2 separate regions of the Homo sapiens genome follow, and region 1 is linked to region 2. Evidence: promoter capture Hi-C in 16 types of primary human blood cells and fetal thymus (Javierre and others, 2016). All regions are on one chromosome and are shown on one strand. The core of a region is centred on a gene start or on the middle of the fragment in contact, and the rest is flanking DNA. Distances in the headings are between cores, read along the strand shown.

Evidence for each region. Contacts are between HindIII fragments. The CHiCAGO score rates a contact against its expected background, and 5 or more counts as called.
Region 1: a contact is called between a fragment that was not itself captured here and the fragment with the promoter of HERC6 in region 2, in 2 of 17 cell types (naive B cells and total CD8 T cells). The highest score is 5.8, in naive B cells.

Annotation. Positions count from the first base shown.
Region 1 is chr4:88,277,121-88,282,993 of GRCh38, forward strand. It overlaps PPM1K (protein phosphatase, Mg2+/Mn2+ dependent 1K), which reads right to left. Exons shown (of 7, transcript NM_152542.5): 2 at 1,024-1,522; 3 at 23-123. The coding sequence starts at 1,463. Among named protein-coding and RNA genes, the nearest start is that of PPM1K, 4.5 kb to the right of the region's middle. The HindIII fragment of the contact is 1,892 bases long and covers 305-2,196 here.
Region 2 is chr4:88,377,414-88,383,193 of GRCh38, forward strand. It overlaps HERC6 (HECT and RLD domain containing E3 ubiquitin protein ligase family member 6), which reads left to right and starts at 1,439. Exons shown (of 23, transcript NM_017912.4): 1 at 1,439-1,707. The coding sequence starts at 1,509. RefSeq lists a silencer at 1,662-1,851 and enhancers at 1,862-2,191, 5,268-5,567. The HindIII fragment of the contact is 10,681 bases long and covers 32-5,780 here.

The DNA of each region.
Region 1 (5,873 bases), core at 1-2,500, 100 kb before region 2:
GGAATGTGATAGTTTTACATACCATCAGCAGACAGGCGGGCATGACTCGAAAAGGCTTTATCTATTTCTAGAAAAGCCAAGGTCAACAGAGTTTCCAAGTTCTTCTCCTTAGGAAGCAAATCCCTTTGTGGGGAGGAAAAAAAGAGCCTTAAACAATCATTTTACAATAGGTTTTTCTCCTCACTGTTACTCTAGCTAGCAGTCATTCCACACAACGGGCCTCAGGATTTTCCTGTCAAATGCTGAAGACCTACTGGCTAAGGAATACCTATTGAGAATCCACAAAGTATCAGGCACTGTGATAAGCTTTTAAGGGCACAACAATGAAAGTCCAAGTCCTTGTCCTTGAAGAATTGATCCTCACTACCACAACCCTGAGAGGTCGAGAGTTCCTTCCCATTGTGAGTTCTTTCGTGGAATGCGGTATACACAGGAAGTCAAGAAATGGTCACTGGGAAGTCAAAAATAGTCACATGGTCGTAACTCCATCACATGTTCTCCCTCTTTCAATTTTAGCAGTAATGTGATCCTCAAAAATGCATTAATACTAGTTGAAGTAAATAAACGGAAGAGCTCCAAAATGCCTGCATTAAATGCATTTTTCCACACTAATGCCAATCATCCAAAGCTATTTTCAACAAGTCAGGTATTCAAAGCTATTCACACCACTTGAAAGAGTAATTACCATTTACTGAAGCACTTATCTGTCCTACACTGATGGGAGTAAATGCTTCTCATAGGTTATCTCATGTACATTATGCCACTTCACTTAAAATGATCACAAATTAAGTGCTATAGATTTTGGTTAATGCTTTCCCCAGGGGAGTTGTTAAAACATGCATTTCTGAAATTGTGATAACCATAAGTAATAAATGGCACACTTAAACTACTGCTCATTCGTGAAGCAGCAGCATGCAACCACTCAAGTAACTATGTTTACGCTGGAAGCCTCAGCCAAAGGGTGAAAGTTTAAGTAGGAAGTATAGGAACTGCAAAGTCAGGAGTGAAAGTCATTGTACATACATAATACATTTCTCCATGTGGGTATGACAGAAATCAGCTGCTGCAGGTCCACCGTGTCCATCATACACTGCAAAGTACAGGACCTCATCTGTCAGCTGAGCGAAGTCAAACCGATCTTCATTCTCTTTCCGTTTGCCAATCTGTGAGGCGCACCCCACATTTTCCAAGCTGATTTTGGGAATTGGCTTGCCATACTTAATGCTGGGTGGCAGCAGAATTGGCTCATCAATGCGGTTATCCCAGATCCCAAAATTGTCCCAGGTAGCTGGACTCCCACTACCATCTGGGTCAAACCGAGAACACCTAGGCTCTGAAGTGGAGCTGTGGCACGTGGGTGTCACCCGCCTGTCGTCCTGCAGCAGGCGGGAGCTTAGCAGCACTCTCCTTCTCACCTGGTTCCCACCACTTCTGACCAAAGTAATTAAGGCAGCTGTTGACATAACTCAGCTCCAAAGGACTCAGTGATGAGGGAAAGGTCAATGGAACAATAATGGAATGTCTTCAAGAAAAATGATGCAAGTCACAGGGGACAGAGGGAGAGAGGGGCAGAGGAGGAGAGGGAGAGAGACAGAGAGAGAGAGACCATCAGAAATTTTGAATATAACTGATATGTCATCAAATATTACCAAAAATGAAGCTCATAAAGGATTTGACAGAAAATACATATATTTATGTTATATATTGGGTAGGCATCCAGTAGCCTGCTTCTAAGAACAGTGGATCAAAAATGAATCGATTTTCCTACCGCATTCACAGCATTTAAATTCTATAAAAATTTAACAGTGTGCACATACACAGAACATGTATCTCTTAAACTTGAACCTGCAATCACTTGTTAAAATGCATGTTCTGACCCAGTGGCTATGGGGTGGAGTCACTCTGCATTTCTAACCAACACCCTGGTGATACAGAAGCTGCTGGTCCCCAAGTTACACTTCTAGTAGCAAGAACACAGAATACAGGTATAAATAAATATACTTCCCTTCATTAACTCTATTGCTTTAAAGAAAAGGTAGGGATAAATATTAACAATAGCAACAAAGTCTCTTCAGGAAAAAATAACAGGCTAATAGAATACTTAAAATAGTTCTGTTTCCAAAGAATGGCCAAGTTTTAACAAAAACATAATCTAGGATAAATCTAAGTTTTATTTTAACATTTCTTAACCTACTAAGCTTTACATACTATATTACTATGGTAAATATAAATTGGTGTGCAAACACCCCAGAGGCACAAAGATAAGCCAGTTTTGATGCTCCCCATCCTAGCAGACTCTCTCACTAGGAGGGTATGTGGGTATGATCTCAGGAACCTGGCAGCACTGCATTTGTGACAAGCAGCCCTGATTTCTGAACGAGTGATCTATATATTTACATTCACAGCTGCAGCTCTCCTTTCCCCAACCCTAACAACCCAACGACACTTGAGACTACACTTCTTTGAAACGATTACTTTACACCCCCATTTCTGGACTCCACCCTGAAACTCAATCCTAAAACCTCTCTTGGCATTACAGGGTGTTACCCAGGGGAACTCCTACCCCACTGCAGGTAGAGCTGTTTCTGGGAATTTTCCACACAAATAAAAAATTTGTCTCCATAGGATTTTGTTCTATTACTTTATTCTTTTAAAATCAACTTGAAAAGATGGCAGAATACTAAGGTTTGATGATGTTGGTGGATGGTCTACAGATAGTATATTATTCTCAATCTTATGTTTAAATTATTTCACAATAAAAAATGAACTTGAAAAAATGTATCTTTCCAAAAGGTATAAACATACACAAATGAAACCCAGCTTGAGTGCAGTTATGAGAAAATGCACTACAGATTTCAAACAATTACTTTCCAATGAATTTTTGGAAATCAGTCTAGCTATGTATAGGGAAGGCCATTACTTCTTTCGGTGGGTAAAACAGTCAAAAGAAAGAATGAGGTTCCAAAGAACATCCTTAGGTGTTTATTTGTTTTAATTTCTTGTAGATATGGGTTCTCACTTTGTTGCCCAGTCTGCTCTTGAACTCCTGGCTTCAAGTGATCCTCCCACCTCAGCCTCCCAAAGTATTGGAATTACAGGCATGCGCCACAGAGACTGGCCTCAATCTTTAGATATTTAAGCAATTAAAAAAAATATGAGCTCTGCTGTCACAGAATTTAGAATAAAGATGGCCACCAAAACAAGTAATGTATCATCAAAGACTTAGGAAGTCATCCCTTCTTGGCCTTTTGGCCAAGATCCTGCATAGAAGGCTGAAATTCATTTCTTCGTAAGACAACATTGTTGGGGGGTTGGAGAGTGGCAGAGACACAGCATCTCTGGTTATCAAAGAGAATTAACATGGCCGGACCCGGTGGCTCACACTTGTAATCCCAGCACTTTGAGAGGCCGAGGTAGGCAAATCACTTGAGGCCAAGAGTTGGAGACCAGTGGGCAACTTTGCAAAACCCTGTCTCCACTAAAAATACAAAAATTAGTCAGGCGTGGTTCCGCATGCCTGTAGTTCCAGCTACTAAGGGGGCTGAGGTGGGAGGACTGCTTGAGCCCAGGAGTTTGAGACTACCCTGGGCAACATGGTGAAACCCTGTCTCTACAAAAAGTACAAAAATGAGGTGGACAGATTGCTTGAGCCTGGGAGGCAGAGGCTGCAGTGAGCTAAGATCACACCACTGCACTCCAGCCTGAGCAATGGAGCAAGACATTGTCTATTTAAAAAAAGAGAGAGAGAGCGAGAGAGAGAAATAACACATTCCATTGCAAGAGATGTTTGTTCTTTTGCTTCTAATTGAGAGTTAGATTTTATTCAGCAACAATTATGGATTCAAGCCAGCAATGGTGTGTTAAAAAAAATTTAAAAACCCAATTATGTTAATTATAGGTGATGAATTGAGACTTCAAACTACAATACAATCTACCAGGTAATGGAAGTACTAATTATTTGGAGATAATTCCCAAAGCAGCTTTATATCATATAGAAAAAAAAAAGAACTTTAAAGAAATACAATTATTAGAAAATATTTGTATTTGAAGAGTTAACTTGAGATTAGCAAAATACTATTCTTTTGGCTTCGGTCTGAAAGTATATATGCCATATTCAGCCTTGAGCTACTTTGCAGTCATGCACCTACTTTAAATCAGAGTTCTGGAATTACAAATAAATAAATATTGAAGTTTTTCTGCAACTGTTCTAGTATATTCTTGCCGTTTTATCTCCTCTTTATCCTCCCCCCAATTTTTTTTTAAATAATAAAATAGAACTGCATTCTCACAGAGAACAAATATCCACTGGAAACATTTTTAAGAAATGAGATAAAATGCAAATTGAGCAGTTTCTGTAAGGCTAAAAACCTGCGTATTTTAAAATCAATCATCAACCTGGCATCCTTCCTCGTGTATTGTTTCTATAATCATCTCAGAAAGCAGGCAGTCATAGGAAACCACCTACTTTAAGGCATATTATTGGCAGAGATGAAATGTGACCCAGATATATAGCTAGTTTATAAAAAACAAACAAACAGGTCGGCATCGCTTAGGTAAACGAGATGTTACGAACTGGCTCCATGTCCTTTTCCATCTGCAATGTAACTAAATCATATCAATCCCCTCCATATTCCCTAAGAAACAATTCAAAGGCAGCTGGAGTTCCCAAAGTAAATAACAACTTTGAATTAAACCTGCACATTAAGAAAAGTTTCCTCCTCCAGAACTCCACAATTGGGATCTGCCATCATAGACCCCACAGCTCTGCCGATGCCCATGGGAATGACTATGCTTTGACCAGCAAGGCAAGGGGAGTAGAACTTGTGATGTGAAAAACAAAAACCTTAAGGAAAAAAAAAAAGCAATCAGTGTTCTCTAAACAAAAAGAGTGGAGAACAAACTAGCAAACACCTAAGGATTGTCTTTTGTCAGTTCAGCAATTAAAAATTGGGATGAGTTCATTATTCCACAAACTAAGAGAGAGAAGGAATCTTTTTAAGTAAGCAGGGGAGATTTAGGTCAATTTTTTGATCGGAAAACATGGCTAGTTTATTTTTATAAACCATTTTAACATTATATTCAATCTTTGGAAGTCAAGTCATCCAAAAGGAAAGCACTTTCTCTGGCAGGAAGGTGCACTGGATTTGAGTTAAACTGTTCTTGTATGTTAAAAGCAGGTCAAAAGGGCAGTTTAAGCACATGCCAAAATTATTCAGGAGTTCTAAAGTTCTGAAACCTGCTTAGATTTTATCCCTCTAGAAAAAATATTTTAAGAAAGCATTCCTATCTGCCCATTATGAAGTGGCATTTAGGTATCTACAACTTCCACAATGAGAACACAGCCCTTTTAAATATTCTTAAACCAAATATTTACCTATCGACCTTTTTAGAAAATCAATTAAGGCATCCCAGTAAATTCAAATAGTATGGAAATTTCCAGAATGTATTTCAGCTAATTGGGACCCCAATACCTTCTTTCTCAATACCCTGCTAGGAGGAAGGGAAAGAAAATTTACTGCTTTACCTGAGGGGAAAAAAGAAAACAACAATAAAAACTCCAAAGGACTCCCCTTAGGTTTAATGTGAATATGTCTATGTTCAGATGTGTGACTGGAGAAAAGTGTGAAATGTGAGCAGTGAAAAGTACTCAGTATTCTATTCCCATAGATATCTTTTAAGACACGTTAGTAAATATGCATACAAGCCACAGACTATATCCCAAACCTGTAACTTTATAATGCCTTTAAGAACTTTCCTTCACAGTCTATTATGTCACCAGCCACTCTCCTCTCTTCTTTCCTCGTCTCTAAGGATTGCAGTCAAGGAATTTGCCTGGGTGATCAGTAGTAATGACTAAGGTTGCAAGAAAAAAT
Region 2 (5,780 bases), core at 189-2,688:
CTGATGGCTCCCAATTTTCTGACTACACCCAAGCTTCTCTCTACAACTCCAAAACAGTTTATCCTATTGCCTTCTTGATTAACAAGCATCTTACAGTTATCATTACCAATCTGTATTCCAGACACACATAGCTTAAACCTGCACCTTCCTCAGGGTTTCCCAGTCCAGTAGAGTTTACCTTGGAGTAACCCCTAAAGCCAACCCTGGAGTAATCCCTAATCCCTTTTCTTCTTTCCCCCCAATTTCTAATCCATCATCAAATCTGTGGACTCTTACTTTCAAAACATGTCTTGAATCTAATAACTTCTCCTCTCTTCCCTTCTAGGATATCACCTGACCTGAACTCTGAAGTAGTCTCTGCTAACTGGCTTTCTGCTTCCATTTTTGTCCTATTATTTTTCACACAGCAGCCAGATGAATCTTTAAAAACTGAAGTCAGATCATGGCTCTTCTCTATTCAAAACCTTCCAACTGCTTCTTTTCATCCTCTGCCCTCAGGTGTGATCACGACTCATTCCCTCATTTCCCATGTCCCCTCAGCTCTCTGCACAAATATCACTTCATCAGAGAGATCTTCCCTAATATCATCTCAAATACCAGTGCCTTCCGCCTCCACCCTCTGGTTCCTGTTGTATTTTTCGTTGCCCCTTGATATTACACTATGTGTTTATCTGTTTATGTTCTCTTTCCCTCAGGAGAATGTAAACGCATCAAGAGGATCTTGTCTTTCACTAATTGTATTTTCAGGCGGGGCCCAGAGGCTCACGCCTGTAATCCCTGCACTTTGGAAAGCTGAGGGGTGGATCACTTGAGGTCAGGAGTTCGAGACCAGCCTGGCCAACATGGTGAAACCCCATCTTTACTAAAAATACAAAAATTAAGTCGGGCGTCGTGGCGCATGCCTGTAATCCCACCTACTCGGGAGGCCGAGGCAAGAGAATCAGCTTGAACCCGTGAGGTGGAGGTTGCAGTGAGCCGAGATGGTGCCACTGCACTCCAGCCTGAGCAGCAGAGCGACACTCCATCTCAAACAAACAAACAAACAAACAAACAAAAAACAAACATATTTTCAATGCCAAAAAAGGTCTGGAATGAGGTGGGCACTCAGATGCTTTATTAACCACTCTAGGTATTATTCTAACACTTTATGTGCCTATTAAATTATCCCGACATATTAGATTTGCTGAATTGCAGTCCATATTTCGTAGATATGATAGCTGAAGCACGGAATCATTAGGTAACTTGCCCAAAGTGGCATTCACGACTCATAAATGGCTTAGGATGTAAACTCAGTTTTATTCCCTGGGACGCCCTCTCTGCTCTTCAGCACTTGAAGTTCAGGCAGCGAGAGTTGACATGGGGCCAGGGCTGCGCCCCTGGGGCGGGTTGAAGACAGGGTGAGTCTCTTGATATTCAGGAAATCATCGCGCACCCAGTCACCAGCGTTCGGGAGCCTGTCGCAGCGGGACCGACGGAATCCGGAGCAGGCGACAGGGCGCAGAAGCGGGATGTACTTCTGTTGGGGCGCCGACTCCAGGGAGCTGCAGCGCCGGAGGACGGCGGGCAGCCCCGGGGCTGAGCTACTGCAGGCGGCCAGCGGGGAGCGCCACTCTCTGCTGCTGCTGACCAACCACAGGGTCCTCTCGTGCGGAGACAACAGCAGGGGTCAGCTGGGCCGCAGGGGCGCGCAGCGCGGGGAGCTGCCAGGTGAGCGGGGGGCCCCAGGTGCAGGGTGTGAGGACCCCAGTACATGGGCGCGGGGGCTTGGGTACCGGGCGCAGGGAACCGGGTGCGGAGCGCTGGGACCCGGGTGAGGGGCGCGGGGGCCCAGGTGCAGGGAGCGGCTCAGATGCTGGGCGCCGCGGGCCAGGCAGGGAGGGGTGCTGGGAGCCTTGGATTCCTCGGGGCCCGAAGAGCCACAGGAACCAGGAAAATGGTGCCCTGTGCTACCGAAGAGCAACTTCCTCAGTTTCGTTTTCCCAACGCCCCTCGGATTTGTTTCGGTTTCCAATTCAAGTTCAAAGCGAAACTGAGAGCCGAAACTAACCTGGTCAGCGCTGCTCTGGAAAGAGATGTGGTCCCTCCGGCTTGCCTTGCAGATAAATCCTCGCCTGCGCGGTTCTACCTGGAGAAGGCAGCCTGACCTTACAAACGTGGTTTGTGGGTCAGACACCTGTATCTCCCTTAGAAATACACTGGGGCATTAAAAAATATATATATATAAAAATATATATATAAAATATATAAATATATATAATATATAAATATATACAAATATATAATATATAAATATATAATATATAAATATATATAATATATAAATATATAAATATATAACATATAAATATATATAATATATAAATATATATATAACATATAAATATATATAATATATAAATATATATATAACATATAAATATATATAATATATAAATATATATATAGCATATAAATATATATAATATATAAATATATATATAATATATAAATATATATAATATATAAATATATATAATATATAAATATATATATAATATATAAATATATATAATATATAAATATATATAATATATAAATATATATATAATATATAAATATATATAATATATAAATATATATAATATATAAATATATATATAATATATAAATATATATAATATATAAATATATATAATATATAAATATATATATAATATATAAATATATATAATATATAAATATATATAATATATAAATATATATAATATATAAATATATATATAATATATAAATATATATATAATATAAATATATATATAATATATAAATATATAATATATAAATATATATAATATATAAATATATAATATATAAATATATATAATATATAAATATATAATATATAAATATATATATAATATATAAATATATATATAATATATAAATATATATATAATATAAATATATATATAATATATAAATATATATATATAATATATAAATATATATATATAATATATAAATATATATATATACACATAATAGGCCGGACGCGGTGGCTTACGCCTGTGATCCCAGCACTTTGGGAGGCCGAGGCGGGCGGAGCACGAGGTCAGGAAATCGAGACCACCCTGGCCAATATGATGAAACCCCATCTCTACTAAAATACAAAAAATAAACTGGGCGTGGTGGCGGGCGCCTGTAGTCCCAGCTACTTGGGAGGCTGAGGCAGGGGAATCGCTTGAACCCGGGAGGCAGAGGTTGCAGTGAGCCGAAATCGCGACACTGCACTCCAGCCTGGCAACAGAGCAAGACTCTGTCTCAAAAAACATAATAATAATAAATATATATATTATATATGTGAGATAATACAATAATCGTTATGGATTATTGTAGAAATACGAGAAAGCAATCACCGTAGCTCCAACACCCAAAGATAACTCCTAACATTTTGATGCATTTTCTCCTTGTCTACTTTTTTCTATGTACATATTTAATCTTTATAAAAATCATGTCATTATAGATTTGTATATGCAGTATTTATGCAACTCTGTACATTGTGTTTTCATCAAGCATAATCTTATGAACATATTACCCTTTCATTTTGTATGTTTTGAAAATATGTTTTAAATTGCTGCATAACATTCTAAACTCTGAGAGTACCATAATTATTCTCTTTTTGTGGAAATTAGATTGTTTCCCACTAGGGGCTTTTATAAATAATACTGATTGATATTCTCGTAAGCAAATATTTGACTACATTTTTGATGACCTGCTGAGAATAGTTTCAAAAGGTGTGTGGAGGAGGAAAATTTTTCCTCTACCCTCTTAGGTTCAGCGGCTGGGTCCTGCAAACTTAACTGACAAAAGACAGATTGACAGGAGAAAAAGCATACAATTTTATTAATCTTTTACATATAGGGGAATTTACATGCGTGGGAATTTACAGAATAGAAGTGAAACTCAAGTGCTTCGACTTAGGAGCTTGTGTACCATGTTTAACAAAGAAAAGGGGGTTTGGACTTTAAAGGATGATGAACTCAGGGAAAGTGACTAGAAAATATATGGGAAAATCTAATGGAAGATAAGGGTTATTTTAATTGACTTGTTTATGCAGGCTCACCTCAGTGCCAAGTCTTCATCTTAGGTGACCCTTCTCTTCTTTTTTTTTTTTTTTTTTTTTTGAGATGGGGTTTTGCCCTGTCACCAGGCTGTAGTGCAATGGCACTATCTCGGCTCACTGCAACCTCCGCCTCCCCAGTTCAAACGGTTCTTCTGCCTCAGCCTCCCAAGTAGCAGGGATTACAGGCACTCACCACCATGCCCAGCTAATTTTTATATTTTTAGTAGAGACGGGGTTTCACTATGTTGGTCAGGCTGGTCTCAAACTCCTGACCTCGTGATCCACCCGCCTCGGCCTCCCAAAGTGCTGGGATTACAGTTATGAGCCACTGCGCCCGGCTGACCCTTTTCTTGGTGCCAGAGATGGGAGCTTCTCACAAAAGGATATTTATGACCTACTTTTAGGTAGATAAGAAGAGAGCAGAGACCTCTTCCTGCATCTGTTGATTCTCAATTGCCTTCAGCTCAAATTCTTAAAGTAGCATGTTTTCAGGTCTTATCACCCTCATTTGGAAATGAAGGGCAACATGATACTTAACCCCAAATTGTTCTCTAGAAAAATGGTACCAATTTCTATCTTTGTGAGTGCATGAATCTTTGGGAAATTTTAACCTTGCATAAATTGACAGTAAATAGTTGAAAAAGATAAGATTACAAAGATAAAAGGAAAAACAAAATCTTAAATGTTGCAAAAACTTTACTGGTATGATGTTCTCAACTCCAAACCTCTAATAATTCAGAGACAGACACCTTGGGAAAGCAGTTTAGGTTGGCTTGTAGGGAAATGTGATCCGGTTTTCATTTGTGGGCATATTTAGGGCCTCCATAGGGGCATATTTTTCACTTTTCATTGTAAGAGGATCCAGCATCTGCCTCTCACACTCATGAGGTAGGCTCCCTTCCAATTTCCTTCTGAGCAAGGGATTCACTGCTTTCAGTGTTTAGGGTGGGAAGACAGAATAGCAAAATGGAGGAGATCCCAACTTTTTTCTGGGTCTCTTTATTTTGCTAGGTTTTGCTAGAGAAACATTTGGTCATGTGTCATAGTCCCTAGAAGTTACCCCCTCCGTGATGCCTACTCCTTTAAATAACAGCCATTAAAAGATAGACTTGGGTAATTGAATGTTTTTAAGAGTCAATTTGAACATTCAGCAGTTCATGAATTGAGCAGCACCAGACCTCAAGCAGTTGGGCTCCACTAAGGGAGGTGCAAGGAGATGCCAGGGGGAACCTTTGATAACGTGTTCCAGGAAGCAAGACAAAGAAAATACTTGATTGGTTAAAGTGGAAAGTCCCTTGTTTGAAGTAGTCAGCAGTTTCTGGTTGGTAAAGTCTCTAGTTAGATGTTAGTTGGTGGTTTCTGATTGGTTAACCTTAAGTTTCATTTTCCTAGGCTATGATCAATCACTCTGAGTTGGGTTTTGGTTTGCTTAGGTAGGAACCCAAGGTGCTGGAGCCATCTCAACCTGATAGTCTCCCTGTTGATTATTTTAACAGAGCTGTATCCTATAAAGACAGGGTAACATACATTGAATTTACTTCCTTCAGACATTTAGAATGGACTTAAGGTCTTGATTCAAAAGACCATTGGAGGAGACAAGAAATCTGGATGATCCTTCTTTTTGAAGAAAAGTGCTGTCTTAAACTTGTGTTAAATTAATAATCTGCAGTGGTGGTTG